2 separate regions of the Homo sapiens genome follow, and region 1 is linked to region 2. Evidence: promoter capture Hi-C in 16 types of primary human blood cells and fetal thymus (Javierre and others, 2016). All regions are on one chromosome and are shown on one strand. The core of a region is centred on a gene start or on the middle of the fragment in contact, and the rest is flanking DNA. Distances in the headings are between cores, read along the strand shown. Region 1 overlaps CAPN3 (calpain 3). Region 2 holds the start of PLA2G4F (phospholipase A2 group IVF).

The links. The method cuts DNA at HindIII sites, captures the fragments that hold promoters and counts their contacts. A CHiCAGO score of 5 or more calls a contact.
Region 1: a fragment that was not itself captured here is called in contact with the fragment with the promoter of PLA2G4F in region 2 in 1 of 17 cell types (endothelial precursors); the score reaches 6.3 in endothelial precursors.

What each region holds. Positions count from the first base shown.
Region 1 is chr15:42,365,891-42,368,590 of GRCh38, forward strand. All of the region lies in intron 1 of CAPN3 (calpain 3), which reads left to right. Among named protein-coding and RNA genes, the nearest start is that of CAPN3, 7.7 kb to the left of the region's middle. The HindIII fragment of the contact is 2,326 bases long and covers 209-2,534 here.
Region 2 is chr15:42,155,332-42,158,031 of GRCh38, forward strand. It overlaps PLA2G4F (phospholipase A2 group IVF), which reads right to left and starts at 1,305. Exons shown (of 20, transcript NM_213600.4): 1 at 1,108-1,305; 2 at 186-258. The coding sequence starts at 1,218. RefSeq lists an enhancer at 1,030-1,745. The HindIII fragment of the contact is 5,494 bases long and covers 1-2,700 here.

The sequences.
Region 1 (2,700 bases), core at 122-2,621, 210 kb after region 2:
ACTTTATTCCTTGTATTCTGGTACACAGAAATCTCTTGAATTAGGCTTATTTTAAGAATAGAGTTTAGATAAGTTTCCCAAGCTATAATTCATCATGAACCTTATTTTCCCAAGTCTAGAAGATTCTCAATACTAGTACTTTCTTGATCTTATCAGAGGGTGTCCATGGAAGGTCATGACCATCACCCAGCTGAGTGCAGTAGAAGGAAGCTTTCTAATGTAAGTTGCATCACAGTTTCAGAGATGTGAGAGAAATTCAGAAATGTGAGGGAAATTGTGAAATGTAAAACGTGAGGGAGAAAAGCATTCAGAATGGAAAAATAAGACAAAGAGTCCCTTCCCATCTAACTCACAACCCTGCCATCCCCAACCTATTCCTTTTCCCAGGCTCTTTCTTTCTTCCGTGCTGTCTATCGACATGGACCCAGCCACACCGGCTGGTTTTTGCTGCTTTCTGTATGACCTGGTCTCTTGCCCCTTCCCAAGGTCCTCATCATCCAGGCAGAACCAACTTCTTCCTTGTGCCAGGGCTGTTACACCAGGAGAAAAAAAAGTATGACATTCTTCAGGGTAGATCTTCTTACTACTGTGGAATTATTGTCAAGTCTTTAAATTTATTTCGCCAAATGTGCTCACTTTCTGAACCCTTAACATGGCAGAAACATCTTCTCTCTTCTCGAGGAAAACCTGTAAGAAAAAATCAGAAAGATTATTATAATTACAGAATTACAATAATCTCTGGGGTGGGGGAAGGAGAATTAAGTATGATTGTTTTCGAGGAAGAAAAGAAAGAAAAACACCTGCCCGTTTACTTACAAGAGGGAGGAGAGCTAGAACTGAAAGGAAAATGGAGTGGAGGAAGCAACAGGGCTTGTGACGACCCCTAACCTGGTGTTCTTCCTCTCCACGACCCGACCCTCACAGAATTCTTTTTTTTCTTTTTTTTTTTCTTTTTTTTTTTGAGACAGGGTCTCGCTCTGTTGCCCAGGCTGGAGTGCAGTGTCTCCAGCTCAGCTCACTGCAACCTCCACCTCCCAGGTTCAACCAATCCTCCCACCTTGGCCTCTCTAGTTGCTGGGACTACAGGCATGCGCCACCATGCCTGGCTAATTTTTGTATTTTTAGTAGAGATGGGGTTTCACCATATTGACTAGGCTGGTCTCAAACTCCTGACCCCAGTGATCCACCGCCTCAGCCTCCCAAAGTGCTGGGATTATAGGCATGAGGCTCTGCACCCGGCCTCCCTCACAGAATTCTTTCCGAGTGCTTGTGAAACTTCTGAGGCAAGTGACTTGGTAGAGGGTGGAGGTTCCTATTTTGGTTTACACAAGCAGGGGTGAGCCAACACTCAGAGTGTGGAAAGCACAGGAGTGTGGGGAGAGAGAAGCACACAGAAAGGAGCTGCTAGGAACCGGCTGAACTGTGGTGGGAGTGAGGAGGCTCTGCCCTCTCAGAGGCTATGGAGTGGTGTTCAAGACAATTCACAAGGAAGCCTGGTGCCTCAGCTAACACTGGGTGGCATTCTGCTGAAGAGGAGCTGACACGTACTTTTCCATTTTCATTCAATCTTCAAGTTTAAACAATCACCATCAGAACTTTCAGAAGTGTATTATATACTCCAGAACACCAGAAATATAGTATAAAAGCTGCTATTTTTAAAATACCCCAGAGATATAGGACCAAAAATGGGAACTACTTTCAGCCTTTCCAGATGGATGGCTTTCTTTCCTGATATAAAGGTTTTAAAGAGAAAAGGATGGCTCCATCTCCTTGAGTAACCTACAGCTTGTAACTTTCACAGTCTGAACACTCATCCTTATTTCTAACTAGAATGTTTCCAGGTGCAAATGTAATATATTTTCTCTGGCTGTGACCCAAAAGACAGTGAAATAGAGTCAGCTGATTTTCCCTGTATGGTAACCCTCCCTATTTTTTTCTCTCTTTTTTTTAAACAGAGATAGGAGTCTCACTATGTTGTCCACACTGGACTTGAACTCCTGGGTTTAAGTGATCCTCCTGCCTCAGACTCTGAGTAGCTGGGACTACAGGCATATCCTGTTTTTGAATCATGTCATCCCTCTTTTAGTTAATTCAGATCAGTCACAAAAGTGTTCCAACTTTATGCCATAGGCATGGCTTTTCCAACATGGAGGACGTCAGTGCTATAAACCTTACACAGCCAATCCTTGTTATTTGCAGATGCCATATTTGCAAATTCACCTACTCGCTAAGGTTTGTCTCCTCAAAATTAGTACTTGAGGTGTTTTTGCAGTCATTTGTGGGCATACACAGAGCTGTGAAAAATCTGAGTCACCCCACATGCCTGTTCCCAGCTCAGGTCAAACAAGGCAACACTCAGCCTTCTTGTTTCAGCTTTGATACTGTAAAGAATGTCCTTTTCATGACGTCTTTAGTGCCATGTTTTTCTCATTTCTGTGCTTTTTATTGGTGACCTCCAAGCATAGTGCTGAAATGCTGTCTAGCATTCTAGGAGGCTGTGGTGTGCCTCATGGAGGAAATACGTGTGTCAGATAAGCTTTGTTCACACACAAGTTATAGTCAGTTGGCTGTGAGTTCAATGTTATTGAATCATCAATCAATAAACAATAATTTAATGAATCAATATTAAATAAGGTGTCTTTAAGCAGAAACATCATAAAATAAGGCTCTGTATTGATTGGTTGATGAAAATGTGACCAG
Region 2 (2,700 bases), core at 55-2,554:
GCACTCACACATACTTGCACAGATGCCTACACGTATACTCACACATGTATACACACATGCACTCTCACTTGTACTCACCCATGTATACTCTTACACACACACACTCTCTGTTAGCCAGCCTGAGCTGAGCTCTGAGGAAGCCGCAGGGAAAGGACAGAGAGAAGGATGGAGATGGGGTCACTCACGCAGGTCTGTGCCCCGGATGTTTGTGGCCCTCAGCACCTTCACCTGGAGGTCATAGTATGGGTAGGTTTCCCGCTGCAATAACAGAACTCCAGGGACTCAGTCAGCTAGTGTGAGCCTGGTCCCTCGCCCCATTGTTCCCCTCGTCCCATCATGGAGCAGCAACCTGGCATAGGGTCACTGACGTCTCTGTGCCGGGGAGCAGGGAGACCTTGGCGGGTCCCAGGCATTGGGAGTTCAGCACCTTCGTGATGTGTCTGGACCCTGGAACCCATCCGGTCTGGGTTCAAATCTAAATCCAGCACGGACTCACTGAACTAACGATGGCTGTCACGCACCACACACCTGCAGCTCCCCTCAGACGCTCGCGCCCCCACTCTAGCTTGGGAGCAGCTGTGAGAGCTGTGCTAATGTTGTGCTTGAGAAGATTAAATATTAAAAGAGAAAACTGTGACACCCCCTCCCTTGCTTGCTCCCTGACAGAGGCTCAAAGACCGTCTAGGAGGCAGCGAGCAGGTGAGCGGAAGCCGAGAGTCACCGGCCGGCCGGTACCGGTCTGACGAGTCACCGAGCAGATTGCAGCTGGGCTTAGGAGAGATAACATCAGCATGCTGCCTACTGGGAGGGAAACTCTCCCCTCACAACCCCACCAGCTCCGTGGACTCTACAGCCAGGCTCGCGCATCCTTGGTGAAAGCCAACCCACCCCAGACAAGTGTCAAGTGAACTAACCCTCCATTTCCTAATCGGAGGGAGCTATTTTTAAGAGCCAAGGTCTAATTTAAGCTCTGCCAGGTCATCTAGAATAAACAGGTCCCACCCCAACTCAAAACCCAGGGCTGGGGCTGGTCTCAGTCTTCACAGGGCACTGCAGCTCCCAGGACTCCCCCAGTCCGGGTTTCCCAGGTAATCTCAGGTACGTTACCCGCCAGTGCCTCCACAGAGGGCCCCTCTTCTCTCTCTTCTGAAGCAGCACTGCCCCCAGGAGGGGCAGCATCTTGTCTGCCAGCCACCTTGGCCAGAGTGCCCAAAGCATGGCTGGGCAGCCCGGGCCCCAGCAGGGAACCCTGCCTGCGCTCCTCTGGTTGCACAAACTGCTGGCTCAGGTGTGACAGGCAGCACTGAGTTGGGAGGGTGGAGCTGCCTGCTCTGCAGAGAACTCAGGCTGGATGGCCTGCTGGAGGTGGAGTTTGACATGCTCCAGGAAGTGACTGGAGCTTAATTTCCCCAGGCAGGAGGCAGCTCAGTCCCTCTCCAAGAGACTCTTGGGGTCTCTGGTTAGCACTCTTGTTCCCAAACCCAGCGCCCTGGTTATCACTGGGCTGTTTGTGAAAAATAGACACCGGAGCTATTTCCAACAAGACCTCTAGGTGAAGCTGGCACAGCTGGCCCAGAGACCAGCTGGCAAGTGCAAATCAGGGAAGAGTCTCCTCCAGCTGTGGAAAAGGCCTGAAACTAGCCACCCTTCAAGTCCCACCTTCCCTGCGGCTCTTAAGCTGAAGCCTAGAAATCTCTGCTTCAGTGTTTCATCTGGGATCAAAGATGTTTCTCTCTTTATATATATTTTCTAATTATACTTTAAGTTCTACGGTACATGTGCACAACGTGCAGGTTTGTTACATGTGTATACATGTGCCATATTGGTGTGCTGCACCCATTAACTCGTCATTTACATTAGGTATTTCTCCTAATGCTATCCCTCCCCCATGCCCCCTGCCCCCCGACATGCCCCGGTGTGTGATGTTCCCCGCCCTGTGTCTAAGTGTTCTCATTGTTCAATTCCCACCTATGAGTGAGAACATGTGGTGTTTGGTTTTCTGTCCTTGCGATAGTTTGCTCAGAATGATGGTTTCCAGCTTCATCCATGTCCCTACAAAGGACATGAACTCATCAAAGATGTTTTTAATCTCTCCTGACCACCCTCATTAATTCGCCAAACACCAAGAGCCTGGTGGGTGCCAGACCTGTGCTAGGCCCAGAAACGCAAAGGTGACAGAGGTGAGGCGGGCCCATCCACATCCTGGAGAAATTCAGTCTCATGACTCCCTGTGGCTTTGGCCCAGGCTCGCTTCCTGGGTCAGTGTACAGTGTCCAGGTACAGACAGGCATATGGGCAGGGGGTTATAAATAAGGACAGGCCAAACAACAAGTCTACGTATCCTTCAGCGACCAGATATACAGGCTTTAGCATTCTCTTTGGCCATCGTAGGCCTTAGGCTGCAGATGGATGTGATGTTCGCTCTTCTGTGGACCACAACCATCAAGGTGGCTGAGACAGGCACAGTCTCCAGGAAGAGTGAGGATCTCGGGGGCCGTGAACTGTGGGAGGGAGAGAATTTCTGTCCCTCAACTAAGATTCAGTCATCTCCACTCTTCCCAAGGCCTAGAGTCACAGGCTGAAAAATACAACATCCAAAAAAGATGTGATTCAACTCCAAAATGAACCGAATGGGCAAGTTCAGACCAGAAACTCCCCCCAAAAAAGGAATGTGTGACTGCCAGTGACCAGGCCCCAAAG